4 separate regions of the Homo sapiens genome follow, and all the other regions are linked to region 2. The links are contacts of gene promoters, found by promoter capture Hi-C in blood cells and fetal thymus (Javierre and others, 2016). All regions are on one chromosome and are shown on one strand. The core of a region is centred on a gene start or on the middle of the fragment in contact, and the rest is flanking DNA. Distances in the headings are between cores, read along the strand shown.

The links. Contacts are between HindIII fragments. The CHiCAGO score rates a contact against its expected background, and 5 or more counts as called.
Region 1: a contact is called between a fragment that was not itself captured here and the fragment with the promoter of CEMIP in region 2, in 1 of 17 cell types (M1 macrophages). The highest score is 5.0, in M1 macrophages.
Region 3: a contact is called between a fragment that was not itself captured here and the fragment with the promoter of CEMIP in region 2, in 8 of 17 cell types (M1 macrophages, megakaryocytes, M0 macrophages and 5 more). The highest score is 14.2, in M1 macrophages.
Region 4: a fragment that was not itself captured here is called in contact with the fragment with the promoter of CEMIP in region 2 in 1 of 17 cell types (endothelial precursors); the score reaches 6.0 in endothelial precursors.

The regions. Positions count from the first base shown.
Region 1 is chr15:80,597,493-80,602,723 of GRCh38, forward strand. It overlaps ARNT2 (aryl hydrocarbon receptor nuclear translocator 2), which reads left to right. Exons shown (of 19, transcript NM_014862.4): 19 at 1-441. Among named protein-coding and RNA genes, the nearest start is that of ARNT2-AS1, 16 kb to the left of the region's middle. The HindIII fragment of the contact is 2,084 bases long and covers 855-2,938 here.
Region 2 is chr15:80,775,564-80,780,758 of GRCh38, forward strand. It overlaps CEMIP (cell migration inducing hyaluronidase 1), which reads left to right and starts at 3,807. Exons shown (of 30, transcript NM_001293298.2): 1 at 3,807-4,051. RefSeq lists a silencer at 3,429-3,708 and an enhancer at 4,329-4,834. The HindIII fragment of the contact is 7,653 bases long and covers 584-5,195 here.
Region 3 is chr15:80,568,132-80,573,674 of GRCh38, forward strand. The region is part of intron 12 of ARNT2 (aryl hydrocarbon receptor nuclear translocator 2); the gene reads left to right. Among named protein-coding and RNA genes, the nearest start is that of ARNT2-AS3, 8.0 kb to the left of the region's middle. The HindIII fragment of the contact is 178 bases long and covers 3,642-3,819 here.
Region 4 is chr15:80,543,358-80,549,337 of GRCh38, forward strand. All of the region lies in intron 8 of ARNT2 (aryl hydrocarbon receptor nuclear translocator 2), which reads left to right. Among named protein-coding and RNA genes, the nearest start is that of ARNT2-AS3, 17 kb to the right of the region's middle. The HindIII fragment of the contact is 379 bases long and covers 4,358-4,736 here.

The sequences.
Region 1 (5,231 bases), core at 647-3,146, 180 kb before region 2:
TGGAGTCTGGGGCAACTTAAGGAGGCACCACACAGTGGTGCAGGCACATTTCCAAGCGTAGGTGTCCCTGGCTTTTGTGGCCAAAGCTAGTGTTATGGTCAACAACAGGCCAGGGTCTGTGGGGCACTGACCTTGAAAGTGGCAAAATGGAGGTTTCACAGGCTGTGCGGGAGCAGGACGGCTTGCTTCATCTAACAATCTCAGTTTCCTTTAAAAAAAGAAAGAAAGGAAAAGATTTCATAAGCAGGTGTCAGTGGACAGTTTAAGTACTTAACCATTTCTCTTTCTTCTTATGGATGTGAACTGTGCTGTGGATAAATCATTTGTATTTCTTGAATGTTCTCTATGACTAACAGTTATTAAGTCGGTTGTGTATATGTGTAACTAATGTAACTGCCTTTTAAAATTTCATTACAATAAAAATGACTTTGCTCTGAACAACAAATGGCCCAGGCCAAGTTTGTAATTGAACCATCCTTGAAACCTGCCCTTTGCATTACACTCCCTCCTATGGGCTGTATTGTGTCATAATCTGTAAAGGATGTGGCGTACATTATACTAAAGAGTGACCCTTTTGGAGGTTTAGCTTCTTAGGATAGAAAAGGAAACTAGGGCTGGGCACAGTGGCTCAGGCCTGTAATCCCAGCACTTTGGGAGGCTGAGGTGGGAAGATCACTGGAGCCCAGGGGTTTGAGAACAGCTTGAGCAACAAAGCAAGACCCTGTCTCAAAACAAAACAAACAAAGGAAGCTAGCATATCAGTCATATTGCATTAGAACCAACAGAAAATAAATAAACAAATAATAAAAGGAAACACAATTCTTGACCGTCTGTGTTAGGCAAGGCTCTCTAGAAGCTTCCTTACAAATGCTATTTTTGTTAATACAAATCTGATATGTGGTTACTCTCCCTGGTTTACAGATGGAGAAACTGGAACTCAGAGAAGTTAAGAAAATACAGGAAGGAAATGGCAGAACCAGGATATTGAACTCAGGTCTCAGTCCAAAACCCTGTATATATTGTCCTATTCAAACATTCTTCTTATTATTTTTTAATCCTTACAAAATTGTTAGTGTTTTAATATGCTGATGCCTCTAGTAAATACAATTGACTCTTGAACAACATGGGTTTGAACTGTGTAGGTCCACTTACACGTGGATTTTCTTCCATCCACCTCTGCCAGCCCTGAGACAGGAAGACCTCCTCTTCCTCCTCCTCCTCAGCCTACTCAACGTGAAGATGACAAGGATGGAGACCTTTGTGAAGAGCCACTTCCACTTAATGAATAGTAAATATACTGTCTCTTCCTTATGATTTTCTTAACATTTTCTTTTCTCTAGCTTACTTAACTGTAAGAATACAGTATATAACACATCTAAAATATGTGTTAATTAACTGTTTTATGTTATCTATATTCTGGTCAACGGTAGATTATTAGTTGTTAAGTTTTAGGGGAGTCAAAATTTATACATGGACTTTCAACTGCATGAAGAGTAGGCGTCCCTAACCCCCATGATGTTCAAGGGTCAACTGTACTTACAAATTCTATTGTTCCTCTGCCAAAAGAGAACTTTTTGGATTCTAGCAAAATGGCAGACTAAAATTGTTTTAAAACTCTTCCATCAAACACCTAGCATTGCTAGTTTTTACAGCTTTATTGATCTATTATTGACATAAAGTAGACTGCACGTATTTAAAGTATACATAAAATTCTGTGACCCTGAGTTAAATATAGACTTCTTAGATACTACACCAAAAGCATGATCCATCAAAGAATAAATTGACAAATTAGACTACATAAATATTAAAGGCATTTGCTTTTCAAAAGACACTGCTAAGAGCATGAAAAGATAAGCCACTGATGGGAGAAAACATTCACAAGTCATGTATCTGACAAAGGACTAGTACCTAGAATATGTGAAGAACTCTTACAATGGAATAAAACAAATGACTCAGTACAAAACAGGCAAAAAATCTGAACAGGCACGTCACCACAGAAAATATACAGATGGCAAATAAGCATGTGGAAAAAACTGATTACCATCATTAGTCATCAAGGAAATGGAAAATAAAATATACAGTGACTCTAATATTTGGCTAAAATGTAAAAAGACTGATGATAGCAAGTGTTGCCCAGGATATGGAGCAACTAGAACCCTCATAAAGGCAAAATGGTACAGCCACTTTGAGTAACAGTTTCTTAGGAAGTTAATCATCCACTCATCTTATGACCTAGCTTTTTCATACCTAGCTATTTGCCCAGGAGAAATAAAAACATATTTCCAAACAAAGACTTGAATAGGAATATTCATTGCAGTTTCATATGTAATAGCCATGAGGGAAAAACAACCTAAATGTCCATCAGTAGGTGAGTGGATAAACAAATTGTGGTACCACCACACAGTGGAATACTACCCAGCAATAAAAAGGAACAAAGCACAGATACAATCAACAGCATAAACAGAGCTCGAAAACATTATGCAGAGCAAAAAATGCCAGGCACAAACATACACAATGATTGCACTTATATGAAACTCTAGATAAGACTTATCCAATCAGAAAGCAGATCGTTGGTTGCTGGCCGGAGGAGTAAGTGGGAGGAGGCACAAGGGAAGTTTGTGAGATGATGAAAAGGTTCTATATCTTTCTTGTGTGATGGTCACAAAGGTGTATACAAATCACAAAACTCATCAAACCCTTCATTTAAGATGGGTACATTAAATTCTGTTGTGCATAGGTTGTCTCTAAATAAAGTTGATGTAAAAATAATCACAGCAGTTTCTTGTGGAATTTGTCAAGTTGATTTCAAATTTCCTATGGAAGAAAAAATGATAGGCAGTAAATTTTGTTGAATAAGATCTAAAAAAGAAAAGAAAGAGGGAGAAAGAGGAAGAAAAGGAGAAAAAAGAGCCAGCCTTTATCCCACCGGACAGTGGGAAGCTTTATCATTAGAAGTGTGGGGTTGGGCCAGGCATGGTGGCTCACACCTCTAATCCCAGCACTTTGGGAAGCTGAGAGGTAAGGATCCCTTGAGCCCAGGAGTTCAAAACCAACATCATGGTGAGGCCCCATCCCTACAAAAAAGAGATGAATGGCTTGAGCCCAGGAGTTCGAGGCTACAGTGAGCTATGATCACACCACTGCACTCCTGACTGAGTGACAGAGTGAGACCCCCTTTCTCTAAAAAAAAAAAAAAAGTGTAAGGTTAGCATGGAGATGGAAAAGTAGATCACAGAACACAACAAAGAACCTAGAAATCCACAGACATTCAGAAAGAAGCTTGGAAGAGTCAGCATTACAAATCACAGGGACCAGCTAGACTTCCAATAGATGGTGCTCGAGGAAAGAATGTAGGAAAAGAAATCTTCATACTCTCATCTCACACCCTATAGAAAAAATAAACTCTACACAGATGAAAACATCGCAAGGCTAAAGGCAATATATGTAAAACATTTAGAAAAAATCTAGGAGAATATATTTTAAAAATCAAGTCTTGGAAGGATTTCTTAAACCCGGCACAAAGACAACAAACAATGAAGTAAAATATTGATAAAGTTTAACTCAATTTAAAAAATCAGCCTCAAAAAATGTAACAGTCCATTAACTGGTAGAAAATATTTGCAATTTGTATACCCAAAAATGTAGTATTCAGAATAAATGAAAGATTCCTAAAAGTCAATTTAAAAAAATAGAACTCAATAGAAAAATGGTCAAAGAATTTGAGTTGTGAGTTCATAGAAAATCAGATGGCATTAAATCTATTAGAAGACGCTGAACTTCATTGTAATTAAGGGAAAGGCAAAATTAAAACAAAATAAATGCTTATGTCGCTCAGATTTACTACGTCTGATAACATGATTGTTACTGAGGATATGGGGAGACAGGAATTCTATTTCCTAGCTAGTGGAAAATAGCATACTTGCTCTGAAAAAGATGACATTTATCAGTACCATTTTTCCAACAGCATATTGGAATGTCAAAGATGTACAAACCCATGACAGTGATTCTAATTCCAACTGTCTGTTCTACAAAACGTCTCACATATACACAAGAAGACAGATAAAAAGATATTTATTGCTCTGTGTGTAAGAGTGAAAAAGTGGAAGAAAATAATCTATCCTTTAGTAGAGAAATGAATAAATTGTGATTTAGGTACACAAAGGAATATATCGCAGCACTTAAATACCTTGTTGCAGATGCAAAAATTCTAAAAATATAACATTGAATTTAACTGCTGTGCATATTTTTATAACTCAACATATTAACATATTTTGTAAATAAATAGATAATTGGTCAAAGAAAGAAAAGAAAAATAACCTCATTGATGCTAAAAACAATTCTGGATAATGTTTATCCTTAGAAGAAAGACATAGAATGACTTGTATGATTCAATTCCTTAAAACAGATTAAGAAAGAGAAAAAAAAAGAGGTATTGACTAAAAAGGAACAGAAAAGTAGCTGAGGCAATTATGGCAAAATGTTAAACAGCTGTTTCATTTCGGTAATGAGCACGTAAAATTCTATAATACTTTTCTCAAAATGATGTATAATGGAAATATTTAATAATTAAACAGAACTCAGAAAGCAGACACTTAAATCTCACAACTAGTCAAAGAAATGCAAATTAAAGTAACAATGGCATGACATTTTTCACCCCAATGGACTGGCAAAAGTGGGAATGAATGTGAAAGGATTGTCTTAGTTATTTTTGGTAAAAATAGAAATTTTTGCAATTCATTTTGAGAGTGACGTGACAATATCTATTAAATAAAACTGTATCTTTGACTCAACTATCCCATCTCTAATAATCTGTCTTAGCGAAATAAGAATGTTGAATACAGATATATTTATAGAAATATTTATTGCCACCTTATTTTGTAGGGGTGGAAAACTGTAAATTAAGGCAAAGCTCACTGATAGAAGAATGGATGAATACATTGGAGAATACCTACTTCATGAACTATCAGATAGCATTATTTCAATATATTAATAAATAAAATAAATAATCAGAAAATTATAAATGAAATTAATCTATGTTGATAAAGCAAACATGACCAAAAGCACATTAGTTAGGTTCATGTGTGAGTACATGGTTGTATATATACATACATATGTACATGTAGAAAATGTATAAAGTATTCAGCCTGGGCAACATTGCAAGACCCTGTCTCTACAAAAAAAAAAAAAATTAATTAGCCAGGTGTGGTGGCACATACCTAGTAATCTTAGCT
Region 2 (5,195 bases), core at 2,557-5,056:
AATCTTGTCAAACTGCCCTCCCAAGTTGTACCAACGTAAGTTTTCATCAGTGATGTATGCAAAGGTTGATTCTCCACCCTTACTGGCCTCCTCCGCAGCAGAGGTAGGGTCAAACTTTTGGATTTTTGCCAGCCTGACAGGTATTTCGGCCTAGTATTAATTTGTATTTCTTCATTTATGTGTTAAGTTGAGCATCTTTTCAAATGTTTGTAAACTACTTGGGTCTCCTTTTCCATCGCATGTATGTTATCTTTATAGGAAATGCTCATTCGTGTATTCATTCATTGACGGTGGACTACACGTGGACTTCATGTTGGCCACTATAGGAGCTACTACAGGGTAGATGGGTAAACTTGAGAGACACAGCCCTTGCCCTCTCAGAACATGCAATCTGATGGAAGAGAATAATTTTGAGCTAGCTATTGAAGATTTATGGAACACTTACATACATTTATCTATTTGTGAAACTATATATGTAACTTATACATGGAAAAATGCTTGGCTATATACTGAAATTAACAGAAATAATTTTTGAGTGGAAGTGATTTTTTTTTCTTTCCTTTGTGTTTTTCTGTATTTTTCAAGCTTTTGTAATGTATACACATTATGTTTGATGTTAGGTAATTTCTTTTCTCTTTGTTCATTGTTTAAGTTTTTCAAGGTTGGTTGGTTGGTTGATTTTTTTACAGGGAACATGTGTGATTTTTTGCAATTAGAACAAAAGGAAATAAATAAGAAGAAGACATCATACATACACCGTTTACCTATGTTTTAGACATAAATAAAACACAGGAAAGAAGAGTTCTTTCTCTAGAGTGACGGTGAGTTTGAAGAGGAAGATATAGAAATCCACTTTCAGAGCTGGGATTTGCTGTCATAAGTTCCAGCACAGGCCTTCACTCACCAGAAAAGCTGAGGACATGTCTCTCTTCAGCTGGGCAGCCTCTTCTGTGTCCAACAAGACAGGAATCAACAGCTCTGAGAGCTGGAAATCTGGCCTCCGGATCCAGGCCTGGGAATTTCCCTTTTCTGATGCCAGCTTCAGGCCCAGTGTCTAAGGGCGACCCCTGTTGGTGGGACTTAAGTATGCTCATTATTCGTGAGCTGCTTCTCCAAGGGTGGAGATGCCCAATTCAGTTTTAATTTTTTGTGGGTCTGCTGGAAACCTTGAGGCCCACAGCCCACTCACACACTACCCTAACTACATCCTGCTTCCCTTTTCTCCTTGTCCTCCACCCGTCTACTCCAGGTTTTCCTGGACAACTGGGTCTGGAGGCTTGGCGTATGGAGCCACAGGTGTGGCCAACCTTTTAAACTGTAATAAGGCAGGCTGCTGTAGGGTCAGGTGCTGTCTTTGCTGATCAGCAGGTGGAGTGTGGAGGCCCTTGTTTTAGGGAACAGATGTGGCATCCTGTCAGCAGACTGAGGATGCCAGACTTGGGCAGCTTGAGGCAACAGTGAGCAGGCAGGCCAATCTACTGCACAAGGATGTAGCTGAGGGGGCTGCATCCCACCTGAGGAAGGTGGGTTGGAGGCAAATGCAAAGAATGGAGGAAGGGCAGGCTTTCTGGGTGGCAGGTCACACCATTGATGGGCGTTTCCCTTCTCTCTGGAGACTCTCTGCTGGGAGATTTCGGCAAGAATCAGAAAACTAACACAGCCTTTCTTGACCAGCTCTTTCCTGTCTCTGCATTTATAAGAGCAAGACAATGGATTGCGAAAGTGTGGGCAGTAAATCCACCAGTGTCATGTTGCTATATTTATCCATAAAGAATTACGCGGCACGCCCCGTTCATCACTGAGTGCTGAATGGCAGTGCTGAATGGAGAACTGGCTGGAGAATCTGGTTTTAGACATTCGGAGCCTGTTTGTAATTCATCAGCACTGCTCTTTTCCCCTGGGCATTGGTCTGTGATAAAGAAAACTGGATACCAGAGGAATGTGCTGGGCATTTCAGTGCTTTGAGAAAACATAGCCAAGCACTTCTCAGGGCCCATCCCTAGACAGGACCCTGCCTTTACCACTTCATCTCCCAGATGGCTGTGGAGCCAGCCCCTCACCAGAGAGCTACCTGGCTCCACTCAGGCCTCAAATCTACTGTCTGTTGATGGAAAATCCTGCATGTCGTGCCAAGCCAGGCTGATTCAAGGTCGACCTTTCTCCATTTGGGCCAAATGCCCAGCACCCCCAAACCCCTAACACACAACTCTTTGTGGGTCTGGTTTCTGGGAGCTCCTTAAGGAAGAAAAACATAAACAGGAATCATGGTGAGGACTGGGGAGAGGGGCCCTGGGTCGGGGGGGCTCCATTTTATTCGGCTGGAAAGAAAAGGTTGGGGAGGAGGGCTTGCCATTGGATCCAGTTCATTACTTCCCAATAAATCAAAGAAGGGCTGAGAATCCTGACCACCACCCCCAGTAAGGATCAAGTTCCGCTTTCTGGAAGAGGCCTAGAGGTGGATTGCAGGACTTCCCAGTTTAACCAGGTGACAAAGGCTTCTGCTTCAGCCCAGATGTGATCACAGACTTCCACAGCTTCTGCCGACCACAGCCTGGCCTTAAAGTCCAGACCTAGAGTCCCGGAGCTAGTGTGTACTACACAGAATGGAGACCTTGCCTGAGGAGCTGGTTCTCAGAGAACACTGGCAGGAAGGAAGAAAGAAATGTATATTCTAGGAGGCCTCTGCTAACCAGGAAAGGGGGCTGAGTCACACTCTGAAAGGTGGAAGAGGCAGAGAGCAGGTATCAACGCCCTCATTTTACAGATTAAAACAAAACAAGAAAAACAAACACTCCTCACCTCCCTGCAAAAAAACCACCCTGAGGCTCAGACAGGGGAAGTAGCTGGCCCTGGTCACACAGTAGGTTAGCGGCAGAGTTGAGAGGAGACTCCATATGCCCTAGGGATGTGTTGTGATGAACTTTTCCTACTGGTACTGTTTCCTCCCGCGAGGGAATGTCTAGACCAGCCGCACCTTCTTGCTTTGACCCTTCAGAACTTTGGCCTGTCCAGTTAAAGAGGCACAGAGCCCTCCTACCCACAGGGAATGTTTCTAACTTACCAAGCACCTATTATGTGCTTAGAACTTGGACTTTCCTGATCTCATTTAAGCCTCACCATTCTAGTGAGGAAGCATCACAGAACCCATTTTCCTGATGAGGAAACTGAGACTGGGAGGGGTTAAGATCCTGTACACAGTTGTAACTGGCATGTCTGAATCCAGTTTCAAACCAAGGTGCCTTTCAGTGAACACCCAAGCATCTTCCTCTCGGATTAACTGCTAGGCCAATACCAAAATCTCTTTCTCGGGCTACTCTTTTGCTGCTGAGTTAAAAAGAGATCCTGAGACTTAGCCTGGGACCCCGACTCGCGGCGATTCTGTGGCAGGCGCAGACCTTTTCTCCTGTCCTCCACTGCCTCTTTGCCTCGGAGGGCGCCCCGGGGCGCGAGCGGGGCACGGGCGACCCTGGCTCCTTGGAGGCCCGGGGACTTGCTCTCCGCGGTCCGCCGCGGCCGCTCCACCGAGTCCTGGCCTCCAGCGCCCTCACCTGGCTGCTGCGGGCGGGACTCTGCGCACCCGGGCTCCGCGGGCTCAGGTCTGCGTCTCCCAGAGCCGCCGCCAGAGCCCGCCCCGGTCCGGCCCGGGCACAGGGCCCCCGCCCCACTTGGGCAAGGCGGGGGCGCGTGGAGGGAAGTTTCATCGGGGGGCGAGGGAGGGAGCTTCGGTGCCGCGCGGGCGTCAGGGGCTCCTCGGGGGAGGAGTCAGTAAAAGTGGCTATAAAAGCGGCCTCTCGGCTGAGGGCCGGGGAGCTAGCGCTCAAGCAGAGCCCAGCGCGGTGCTATCGGACAGAGCCTGGCGAGCGCAAGCGGCGCGGGGAGCCAGCGGGGCTGAGCGCGGCCAGGGTCTGAACCCAGATTTCCCAGACTAGCTACCACTCCGCTTGCCCACGCCCCGGGAGCTCGCGGCGCCTGGCGGTCAGCGACCAGACGTCCGGGGCCGCTGCGCTCCTGGCCCGCGAGGCGTGACACTGTCTCGGCTACAGACCCAGAGGTAAGAGGGCCTGGCTGGGGGCGTCAGGGATGAGCTGACGGCCCATGCCACGGAAGAGAGGTAAGAAGTGGGGGCCCGCGCCTCCACCCGGCACAGGGTAAACGTTACCCGCCTCAGTTTCTGTTTGTCTGTCCACCCTGTGCTGTGCAGTCTACCTCTATCTGTCTGTTTGTCCATGCGTCTGTTGATGGGCACACGCTCTTGGCACTGTCCTCTGTGGGATTTCTCTGAGATCTTGTGATGCTTTACAAGCTGCAGGTGCCGGGGGGCGCTGGAGTCCCCAGAGGGCATCCAGAGGGGGCAGACTCCTGCTTTCCGTAGATTTTCCCCCTTCTGAATGGCACCGGGGGCTTGCGCCCGGGAGAGTGTCTCGCCGAGGAGGGAGTACCACAAGGGTCAGGTCTCGGTGTCCTGCCGACTGGGAGCCAGCTCACGCCGAGCTCTAGCGGGCGTGCGCCTAGCAACAGGTCTGCGCCCTGCTGCTCCTGCCTCAGCACGCTCTTCCTCCCAGTTTCCCTCGCCTCCCAGTGCCTCCGGGACAGCGCTAGGCACCCAGCGACGCGCTGGCGCGGGGCCGAGCTGAGGCAATTGCAATGTTAGATGAACCCGGGGGGCTCTGCTGATGTTTAGACTGAGACTCCAAACGTGGCATCGCTGGAAGAAGGTCTGGTGGTCCCTGGCAAAGGACGTCGGCTCCAAGAAAGGTCGCGTTAGGTTGTGAGGAAAGGCAGAGAGTCCTGGCAGAACGCTGGCCAGGTCTCCAGCTCGCCGCTCTGGGAACGAAGGCCAGTGACATTCTGGAATGGACCCCAAGGGATGCGTGTGCTCATGAGAGAGGAGCGCTGTGCGCCCTGGGTCCTCAGCCGCAGACACTCTCTGCGACAGCCGCTGTTCCCCAAGGGTCGGACGCTACGGCAGTCCCAGGAGTTCCGCCAGCTGCCGGGTTTGAGGTCCTGAGTCCTTCTCCAAGCAGCCAACGCTACCCACAGGTGAGAGCTCCCTTTAAAAACTAATCTTCTGATGTGTGAGCCAGTGCCTGGCTGCAGCCCCATACCAGGGACGGTGAGCCGGGGAGCGCGTCTCTCCATCCCTGCGGTCTGGAAAGTGATCCAGGGCGCGCCCGAGGGCGGGGAGCCGGCGGCTC
Region 3 (5,543 bases), core at 2,481-4,980, 210 kb before region 2:
TTCCATCAAATATGGAATGAGGTCCAGAAAAACACAGACTGATTTAACGTGCTGGTCACACAGCACAACTTTGAAACGTGCCTTGGCACTGGGGGGCCAAGACTCATTTGGGGCTGTTTGTTAGCTTGAGTCATTTCAGCGTTTTTACATGGGCACGACCTAGCTGCTGTGCTTTCTTCATTTCTGACATCTTTTTAGGGGAGTGATCTGAAGTTATCTCTTTGTGTCTGTTCAGGCCAAGTCCTATTTCCTGTCACAGCATTGTTCCAACGTTGTCATAACCACACCTGTTGGTCGTGCTCGTGTATGTGTGTGTGTGTGCATGTGTTTTTAAAACCCCAGAATGCCCAGAATCATGACGGAGTCTCTCTCGAGCTGACTCACCATCACGTCTCCTTCGTCATGCTTAGCAGTGGCCACCTGGTTGGTCCTAGGCAGGCAGTGGAGCATAGGGGTGGGTACAAATGAAGTCAAAGGAAGGCTGCTTTCCTGGTCTCTGCAGAGCGTAGAGGCAGTAAGGGGCTGAAACAGCCAGTCACCAAGCCCCAGATCTGGGAGCTATCCTGGATCCCTCCCTCTCATTCACCTCAACAGGCAACCTGGCACAGAACCAGAGCCCCACAGGTTCTACCTGCGATTCTCTCTAGCGCATCTCCTCCTCTGCCTCTTTGGCCTTGCCTCAGTTGAGGCCTTTGCCGTCTCACAAGTGATCATCGGTCTTCCTGACCATCTCCCCTGCCTTCCATCAGGCCCCTGCTGAGCCAGTCCACGTGGCCCAGGAAGTGAGCTCTAACACACACACACGCGCACACACACGCGCGTGCACACACATGCTTGACTGGACCGTGCTGCTCCCTGCCCTGATCGAATCAATTCCAAACCCTGTAACAAGTATTTCGAGTCCTTCACAATAGGCATGCAGATGGTGCTCAGTCAGGGTGGATATTATTAGCCTCCATCCCCAGACGCCTCCCAGTGTGCTTCCAGTTACTCCCAGGGACATGATTCCAGCTACCTCAGAATGCCCGCTTCATGGCTTCTTGCTCACTTACTCAGGCTGAGTAAAAACCCCTGTCCAGGGAGCATCAGGGAAAATTGACAGCATCTGCCCGGACTCCTGCACCTCGCCGGCAGGAAGCCGCACTTGATGCATTCACTTTCTACTCCTCAGCCGTTGTAGCCCAGCTAATGGAGGGCAGCACTGGCTGTGGTAGGAACCCACTTCCCTCGCATGTGCTGTCAGTCAGTTTTCTCCTGAGCAGCCCTGCTTTCTCCTTCTCTGGAATTTGCAAGCACACCGAGGTTTATTTTTATACCATTGCCGTGAAATGTCTGAGAAAACTCCCCAGGGCTCTTCTCAGGATGGGGCAGCCTGCAGGTCAGCACTTTCTCTTCCACACATGCTCAGCTATGGAAGCAGAAACCCAAAGGTTGTGGGATGGAGATGCTGATGTTCCGACCACAGAGCCAGAGCAGTTAGGGTCCTGGGGATTTGCCAGCCATACCTGCGACCTAATTTTTCTGCTTCCCAGTGAAAGGAGCTTTTTCTGGTCTAGGAGCCCAAAGAGGAACAGAACTGAAAGCAAACCCCCGGCCTAATACCAAGAACCCTTATCACAGCCTTTATCCACATTAGAAACATGGGCCTTCCCCAAACACAGACCTGCACCAAGGTGTGTGAGTGGAGAGGGCCAGGTTTGTGCCCCACTTCGCCCCTTGGCCAGGCATCCGGGGCACAGCTACACAACTGCGCACAGTGGTCCCTGTCCTGTCTCTGAGATTCTGGGCCTGGGCCAGAGAATGGTTCATGGATTGCTGCCATCATGGGGAGTTCACTGCTTCAACCCCACAAAAGTCCCAAGGAACAGATTTTTCTCTTTCCTGTGGCTCAAGATGCCCAAGGTACTAGAATGGGAGACATGGAATAATTGTCCTTGTTATAGCCATGGGTATTTCTCTTGGGCTGGGGCAGCAGCCTAGGCCAGAGTAAAAAGACCGCAAGGCCAACAGCCAGACAGACTTGGGTTTGAGTCATATGTGTTCCATATTCTTGCCATGTCACCCGGATGTACCCTTTACACATCAATTACATTCTAGCCATGTCGCCCTGGATGCATCATTTACATTCTAACTGTTACTCTGGACCCATAGTTCACACCCTGGACACTTACATCTACACTTTCCTCATATGTCTCAGTTGCTTTATCTCTAAAATGAGGATACTGCAGAGATGTGAAAATATTGACAAAGTGCTGGCCATCAGTCCTACATTAAGTGGAAGGTGACGGTGCCCCCAAGGTGTGAATCAAAGCAAAACATAACAAAAGCCATAAAGTAAGAATAAGAGAGTAGAGAAAGTAATGCTTTTTTTTTCTATTGATTATACTGATTCATTTTTCAATTTCTGAAATATCAATTTGTTTGGAAAATTATTTCTAGTGCTCCCACTTTGCTGGTCTAACAAGTGTGGGCTGAGACTGCCTGGTGGGAGATCACATGCTTTTGGTTTTATCCTTTTCCTTTTATCTGGGCTCCCACACCGACATTAGGAGGCAGACTGTACCCTTGGATAGAACCTTGTTCTTCCTGAGGCGTCATCTTAACTCACCACACTGTAATTGCTTGCCCACGCCTGTCTTTCCCTGGAGACTGTCAGTTCCATGAGGGCAGGGATCTTGTGGGTTCTGAGCAATCAGTCTGTCCCCGGTGCCTGGCAAAAGAGTTCCGTACAGTTCACTGAATGAATGACTCTTCTGGGCTGAATTCGAAACAGAATGTTCTCAGGGTCCTCCAACTGGGGTTCCCTTCAAGGAGGCCTTCCCTTATGGTGGGGACACACACACACCAGGGCCATCAGCACAGACGGCATGGCCAGAGGAGGAAATGGCGTTCAGATCATACATATTTTATAATGCCGAGTAAAAGAGTTTAGAAACAGAATCCAACTTATTTTGTGTTTCTCCAGGGGCAGAAGTTGTTCCCCAGATGAAAGTTATAGGGAGGTACATTTCAGCTCCTTAGGGGTCAGGCTTTTTATAAGTATTTCTGTCTGCAAATGGATCAGGCTGCCCCAAAACGTAGTGAGCTCTCTAGCAGAGAAAGTCAAGCAGAGACTGACCAGTTGCCTGTCAAAAGAAATGATGTACTGGGGGTTGCTGTTATCAGAGGAGCTGTGGACCAGATCACTTGTGTGCATTTGCTTCTTAGGAGCTGAGGAGAGTTGGTAAATAGCAATGCATCTTTTGTGTAATCCAAACAGCCTACACTTGGAATGAGAAAATCTAGTCTTGCTCAGTCTTCACCACTTACCAGCCTGGTGATTGTGTTTCTACCACACACAGTTGGTGCACCCTCTGCCTTGCCTGTTTGCCTGGGAGGAAGATTGAAGTTAACCATTGTGGAAAGGGCCAAATGGGATCCCTTGATCTCTGTCCTGGTTAAGTTTGGCCAGTGGAGGGACTGGCTGGAAACAAAGGAACAAGAGTGGAAGAGTAAAAGGTATTAGGCAGCCTTGCTCACCACGGCTCTCACAGGTCTGATAGCTGCTCACTCCCCCTGTCCCTTTGGCCCTAGGGATGGTCATGGCTTCCTGTTGTTGCTAGCCTAGGGGCTCTTCACCATCCTAGTATAACAACTATGAAAGCTTTTCCTTTCCCAAATGGGGCAGACAGCAAAGCACCTTGAAATCAGAAGTATCAGGTCAGTCCTTGGCTCTGTTCTGTGATAGCCACTTGCCAGTTGGCCAACTTTGACAACCACTTAACCTCTTTGAACTTCAGTTTCTTAACTTTAATATGGGGGTGAAGTAACCACTCTGAAAGCTTAGTGTGAGGATTGGATGAGATAATGTAAACACCTGTCCATTTATGGCCACACCTGTTAAGTAGCCCCTTCCCTAAACCTTCTTTAATCATCCCTTTTGAGGGTGCCATCTATTTTCTGCAAACCTCTAGCATCTCTGGGCCTCAGTTTCCTCATGCGGAAAGGGAATTAAAAAAAAAAACAAACCTATTTCCAAGGTGACTGTGAGCCTAAGGTGAGTTAGGATGAATGCAGGCACCTAGCAGGGGGCCAGGGCAAATGCACAGGGGCGGGTGCAGGTGTTACCTCTGCCTTCCTTCCACGGTGGCCACACACCACCTTCTCCTGGATGGGGGCCTCCAGATTCTCACCAAGCCTGTGCTTTTGCTGATAGTTACAATTTTGTTACAGTTTTTGTTACAGTTTGTTTACAGTTTTGTTACAGTGTTCCAGCCATGCATTCCTGGTGGTTCCTCCCCAGGAAGCTGGTCTACCTTCCACACCTGCTCCTCCCCACCAGCCACTTCCTCATCCTAGATAACAAAGGCTTCCTCTCCCACCCTCCCCTCTCTTCCTACCCACAGAATATCTAGCCAGCCCTCCTTGCATCCCAGACCCAGATGAGGGGAGGTGGCCTGTGGGCAGTTCCTCCATGGGGTTCCCCACCACCCAGTCCAGGACACAGCCATGGGTGAAAAAAGTGGGACCACGAACGTGTCAGAGGAGACCCACTGTGATCCTTCTTGTTTCAAAATAGACAGTGGACGTAAACAAAGGAAATCCATAACCTTCCTAATTAATGCAGACACTTGAGAGATTGTTTTTCTTGGTGTTAAATTTTGCTCACCCACATAGTTTGTGGCCATAATTGCAGCGTGCATAATATATTGTGCTGCACTTGAACTTTTCCACACCTTTCATCATACCTTCCTGTGTTTCCAGACGATCTTCACAGTGGTTGCTGTCAGTGCTGTGGAATAGTCACTCAGGAAATTAATATTCAGGATTTACAAAGTCACTCCTGATTACAGCCAACTTTGCATGGGTAGCTCTTACTTCCTTCCACTGAATAATTTCCTTACTACAGCTCAGCAGCAGGATGACCACCTGGGAGCGTGTGAGCAAGTCCACAGTCCCTCATCTGGGTCACCATAGTTTTCCGAAAAGGTCGTGCCATGCACACTTCCCCAACACCGTGTGACCATGGTAGTTTCAATGCAAAGCCACCATGTGAAACATATTTTTACCAACTTAGCAGTTGAAAAATTATACTTCAAAGGTGTTTTAATTTACATTTATTTTGATTATTTTAATGGCAAAATGTTTCCCTGACTTGTTTATTGTATCTATTATATATACGTTATTATAGGTACATACAGTACATGTATATTTGTCCTTTTATTTATTTATTTATTTTGCTTGAATTGTCTGTTCATATGCTTTAAATTGATTGCTGGGCTGGGAGTAATGTCTGTTAGTAATTTGAATTGCATAGTACCACTAATAATTTTTTGCCTGTCCTTCTTAATGATATTTACAATTGAAGAGGATCCTGTCATTTGCCCCATTTTTAGGCTCTGAGCTATAGAGTTCACTTTCCCTTGAAAACAATCCAGTAAAGCCGCCATTTCCTCCAGCAAGTCTTTTTCTTCCCCAAATGGAGCAGGCAGCAAAGCCCCTTGGAGTCAGAAGTATCAGGTCAGACCCTGGCTCTGTTCTGTCATAGCCATTTGCCAGTTGGC
Region 4 (5,980 bases), core at 3,297-5,796, 230 kb before region 2:
CACTTTCATATCCATGTGGCCCAACTCTGATTTCAGCCACAGCTACAGTGGGCACTTCTGTATGAGCTCATTCTCATTTCAAGCTGACAGTATCCCGTGTCATGATGGGATATACTTGCTATCAAAGATTTATACTTTGTATCAAATTTGGAAAATTGTCAGCCATTATTTCTTCAAATGTTTTTCCATGTTCCTTCCCTCCTCCTTCACAGACTTTTAAGTGTATTAGGCCACTTGAAGTTTTCCAATGAGATCACTGATACTCATTTTATTGAAAAAGAACATTTTTATTACTTTCTATCTTTCATTTTGGATTGTTTCTATTGTTATGTCAAGTTTACTAATCTACCTTGTCTAATATGCAATTAATACCATCTAGTACATTTTAATTTTTTATTATTTTACTTTATTTTTGAGCAGAGTCTCACTTTGTTGTACATTGGCCTGATCTCGGCTCACTGCAATCTCCGCCTCCCACGTTCAAGTGATTCTCCTGCCTCAGCCTCCTGAGTAGCTGGGATTACAGGCACGTGCCACCATGCCCGGCTAATTTTTGTATTTTTAGTAGAAACGGGGTTTCACCATGTTGGTCAGGCTGGTCTCAAACTCCTGACCTCAAGTGATCTGCCCACTTCAGCCTCCCAAAGTGCTGGGATTACAGGTGTGAGCCACCACACCCAGCCCCATCTAGTACATTTTTAAAATGTCAGACATTGTAGCTTTCATCTCCAGAAGTTTGCTTTGGGTCCTTTTGCTTCTTCCACAGCTCTACTTAACTGTTAGTATGCAGTTATAATAACTGTGTTAATGTGTTTGTTTGCTAATTCTAAAATCTGTGTCAGTTCTGCGTCATGTTTTGGCAGCTTGGTCTGTTTTCCTTCATTATGGGTTGTATTTTCCAGCTTTGTTTCATGCCTGGTAATTTTTTATTTGATGCTAGACATTGTGAAATTTAAGTTGCTGGCTTGAAAACTCTCTTAAGGCTGTGAGCTAGGGGCAGTCACCAGGCTTGTCGTATTTGTTACCCATTTCTCAGGGATTGCTCTTGTTCATTGCCTGATATCTAGTGTCTTCTAAACCATCATTTCTTGCATTTGTTTTGTTTTTTTCTTTGTTTGTGTGTGTTTGTTTCTGACAAGAAGGTAAATCTGATCTGTTATTTCATCTTGGCTGGAAGCATAACTCCATTGTGATTTAAAAAGCAACGACTAAATAAAAGTTGCTCTGGTTATGGGGAACTGTCAGCATAACTCACACCTTGCTTCCTGAATGCACTTCATTTATTATCAGTAAGCCAGGCTTACAGACCAGAGGATGTGAAAGGCCTCTGTAATGATCACACCTAAAGTACTGTGGGCACATTTTAGGGAAATAGAGGCAATCAGAAACATATTCAGAAATGTGACAAGAATATAGAGAGGCAAACTATTTTTGTAGGAAGAACAGTTTAAATGATGGAAGGATGTTTGTCCCAGAACGGAAAAGACTCAGAAACTCAGTCATATTCTTCACTTGTCTAAAGGGCTACACAGCAGAAGAATGTATGACTCTAAGGGCAAGTCCAGGACCAGCAGGCGAAATCTTCAAGGAGATAGATAGACTGAGTTGTCTGGGGCTATAGTGACCACCCCACCACTGGAGGAGTTCAAGCAGCAATAGATGGACATGGGATTGAAGTCTCATGAGGGTGTTGGGCTCAGTGTCTTCTAAGGACACCTCCTACCCTGAAACTCCATTGCCATGTGGAATCCTATCTTCCTTCATCTCAGACCTTGGGGCAGTAACCCTTGTCCATCTACTGAGCAGGAGAACACCTTCTTCCTTATTGCTTTGGGGCTCCTACTGTAAGTTATTTCTGTGCTTTCAGAGCTAGCTCTTTAGTCAGCTGAGTGTGCTGCTGCCCAGCCCAACTCATCATTCTAGAATCACCTGGTCCTCTTGAAAGAGGGCAGGGCTCTTTAAATTCCTGAGGGGCAAGAAACTGGACATCCTTAAAGGCACATGTGTGCTGTTCATGTGAGTCCTGACTGGTATTTGGTGTTTGGAGGAACTGTAGGTACATGGTAAATGTCATGAAAAGCCATGTGTGCTGGAATGAAGACTTTTGATTTGTGTTTATTCCCTGCAGAGGAATGGTGTGGCCAACTTCTAGGAGTGATATAGACGACAGGGTAGAGAGGAGATGATTGGAGAGCTAACTGAAGTCGAAGCAGACAGGTTTGGTGTCCATTGATATGCAACTGGTGAGAGGAAGGAATAGTGCAGGATGATGCTAAGATTTCTAACCTGAGATATGCAGTCACTAATACATAACAGAAGACAACTCTAGATGTCATTAGCAAAAAGAGAATTCTTAGATAAATGTTAATGAGTCCCATCATTCAAAGGGGGCCAGCTTTGGAAAATGAACAGAAACCTAGGCAGCTTCCATGGGTTAAAGAAGCATGAAGCCCAGGGAATATCTGTTAGTAGCAGCAGCCTGCTCAGGACACTGTGCTTTGTTCTGCTGATGAATTTGAACCATCCCTTCACCCCGGAAGGATACAGGGAGGTAAAATCTAGCTTCTTTGACTTCCAGAGTGGAAGCTAGTATACCGTCTTCCACCATGATCACTCATAAAGGAGGATTTCTTTCAAGTAAGACGTAGGTTTGGCTGCTGGTCAGTCTAATTAAGTGACAGATGTTACTGCTGGTAGTGCTGCTTCTAATAGAGATTAGAATGTATACCAGTAAGTGATTGAGTTTTGCTGCGTATAACAGAAAATCCCAAATATCAGGGCCTTAAATAAATCTATTTTATATCCAAAGGTAGACAATCTAGAGTTAGTACAATGATTCTGTGATGTAAGCAAGGACTCCTTCTCTCAGCTTTCACTCCACAATCGTTATTGTGTGACCCTGGCTTTCCTGCCTTTCGAGATGGCTGCTAGCACTCCCCGGTCATATCTATGTTTCATATGGAAAGGAGTGTTCCCAAAAGCCATGCTCATGACTTCTGCATCCATCTGATAGGCCAGAGCCATGTCAGTTGAACACCTCTAACTCTAATGGAGCAGGCACATTGCCGCTCTGAATAAATCAAGGTTCCTTAGCATGGAAGGAGAGAATGTAAATGATGTATGTCACTAGTGGTCTTTTCCATGGAGAGCAGAAAGAGGAGGATGTTTTGGTAGAGAGATTTGGGCACGATTTTGAAAGACCTGTGAGACTGAGGTAGACATTTTCAGTAGGTAAGTGAAGGCAAGATCTGGAACTGCAAAGGAACATCTCGACTAGAGACATAGTCTTGGGTCTCATAAATGTATGGTTAGAAATAGAGGCAATGGCTGGGCGCGGTGGCTCATGCCTATAATCCCAGCACCTTGGGAGGCTGAGGCAGGTGGATCATGAGGCCAGGAGTTCAAGACCAGCCTGGCCAAGATGGTGAAACCCCGTCTCTACTAAAAATACAAAAATTAGCCATGTGCGGTGGCAGGCGCCTGTAATCCCAGCTACTCAGGAGGCTGAGGCAGGAGAATCGCTTGAACTCGGGAGGTGGAAGTTGCAGTGAGCCGAGATCACGCCATTGCACTCCAGCCTGGGCGACAGAGTGAAACTCCATCTCAAAAAAAAAAACCAAACAAAACAAAACAATAAACGGAAAGAAAGAAATAGAGGCAATGGAAAAATGATATAAAAAGAGACAAGATGAGGTATAAAACTCTGGGGAATGGCAATGCATAGAGCAGCAACAGTTATCAAGGTGTGGTCCATGGACCCTGGGAGTCCCTGAAACGTCTTCAAGGGCACACAAAGTTAAAACTATTCTCATAATAACACTGAGATGTTATTTGCTGCTTTCTGTGTGTCAACATTTGCGCTGATGGCGTAAAAAGCATTGGTGGGTAAACTTGCTGGGCCTTAGCGTGAATCAAAGCAGTGATACCAAGCTGTCCTGGTGGTCATTGTATTCTTTATCACTACACACTTGCAATTAAAAAATAATTTAAAAATGTTTAAATGCCGGCTTCACTTAAGAATGTCCCTGAAGAGGCAGTAAAAATTATGAGTTGTATTAAGCCCCGGATGGAAAACTTGCATAAAGCAACTTCTGCAGCATACCAAAGCACAGGGATTGTGTCAGGGGAAAGCATGTATGCTTCCTTTGGGCTGTGAGCTGAACTAGGTGTTTTTTCCATGGAACATAGTTTTTGCTTGAAAGAATGACTAACAAACAAATGGTGGTTATTATAACTTATGTATTTAGCAGATATTTTCTCAAAAAAAATTGAACTTGTCACTTCAAGGAAAACAATTGACAGTATTTGTTGTCAGTGGTAAAATTCAGATTTTCTAATAAAAATTTGAGTTTTGGAAAGCTTGTATCTGTCACCATAATTTTGACCAGTATCTAGAGATGTTTCTGATGAGATACATGGTGGTATTAACAAGTGCAGTTTTTTTTAATGTTGTATAATGCAATGTGTCAACATTTAGAAGGTCTGTATAATACGGTGAACTAGTATTTTCCAAATGACCAATACATAGTATGTAAAATTATGTGATGGGTAAAAGATCTATCTAAAGTGTTAGACAAACTAGCCTATTTTAATATTGTATTGAATATTACAATATGACAGTATGAAAAATTCATTCATATAGTTTTGGATTTTATATTACAATTAGCCTTTAAGAAACTAACACTTGTCAAGATTTGGAAAAATACCAAAGGAGAATATACTCAGTATTCTGAAAAAGCTTCCCCTTTTTCTCTCTTTTCCATATCTGTGTGAGGCCATATTTTCTTCATATGCCTCAACTAAAACAACATATTGTAGCAGATTGAGTGCAGAGCAGATATTAGAATCCAGCTGTCCATTATTAACCAAGGCATTAAAGAGATTTGCAAAAATGCTAAACAATAATTGAGGGATAATTACTTAATATGATAAATGTGTGTGCGTGCATGTTATATCTTAGTCCAAAAGGTGATATTTAATGGAGAAAGCCCTGAGACATTTCCACTAAGATCAGAAACAAGGCAATAATGCCCACTATCTCTACTACTATTCACAATTATAATAGACATATTATCCCATACAACTAAACAAGAGAAATTAGAGGCAAAAGAATGCACAAAGAAAAAGGAAAACTGTCTCTGTTTTCAGATTATATAATATTACACCTGGAAAAGCCTAGTGAATCAGTGATAAAACGGAAACAAATAATTCAGGTTAATATATGAAAATCAATAGCCTTCATATACATAAACAATAAACAGAGGCTATAATGGTAGAGAAAGCCACATTTACAATAGTAAAAACAGGATTAAATACTTAGGAATAATTTTAATGAGTACACAAAGTACAAGTATATATGAGGAAAATTTGAAAACAGTCCTGAAAGACACAAAAGTAGGTTTAAACAAATGAGAAAACATCCTTTGTTCTTGGGAGGATAACTCAACATTGTAACTTCAGGAGATGTCAGTTCTCCTGAAGTTAATTTACAAATTCAATGCAATCCTAATAAAAATATTATCAAGCTATTTTATGGAGTCAGATAAGTTGGTACTATCAAAGTTCCTGTGGAAAAACATACCTTCAAGAATAGCCAAGAAAAAATACAACGAATAGTCCTACCAGACATTAAAACATACAATAAAGCCTCTATAATTAAAATAGTATGGTACTAGTGCCTGAATAGACAATTGGGCAGTGCAATAGAAGAGACAGTCCAAAATTAGACCCAAACATGTATGGAAATTATATGATAAAGTTGGCATCTCAAATCACTGCAATTTAAGAAAATGTTGATGGGGCAACTGGATAGCTATTTAGAGAAAGATAAAATTAGATTAATATCCCAAAACTCCCAAAAGAATAACTCTGAATGGATTAGGGATCTAAATGTGAAAAATAAAACCATAAAAGTATCAGAGGAAAACAAGAGTGAATTTTTCCTTAAGCTTTGTGTAAGAAATAGCTTTCTAACTATGAC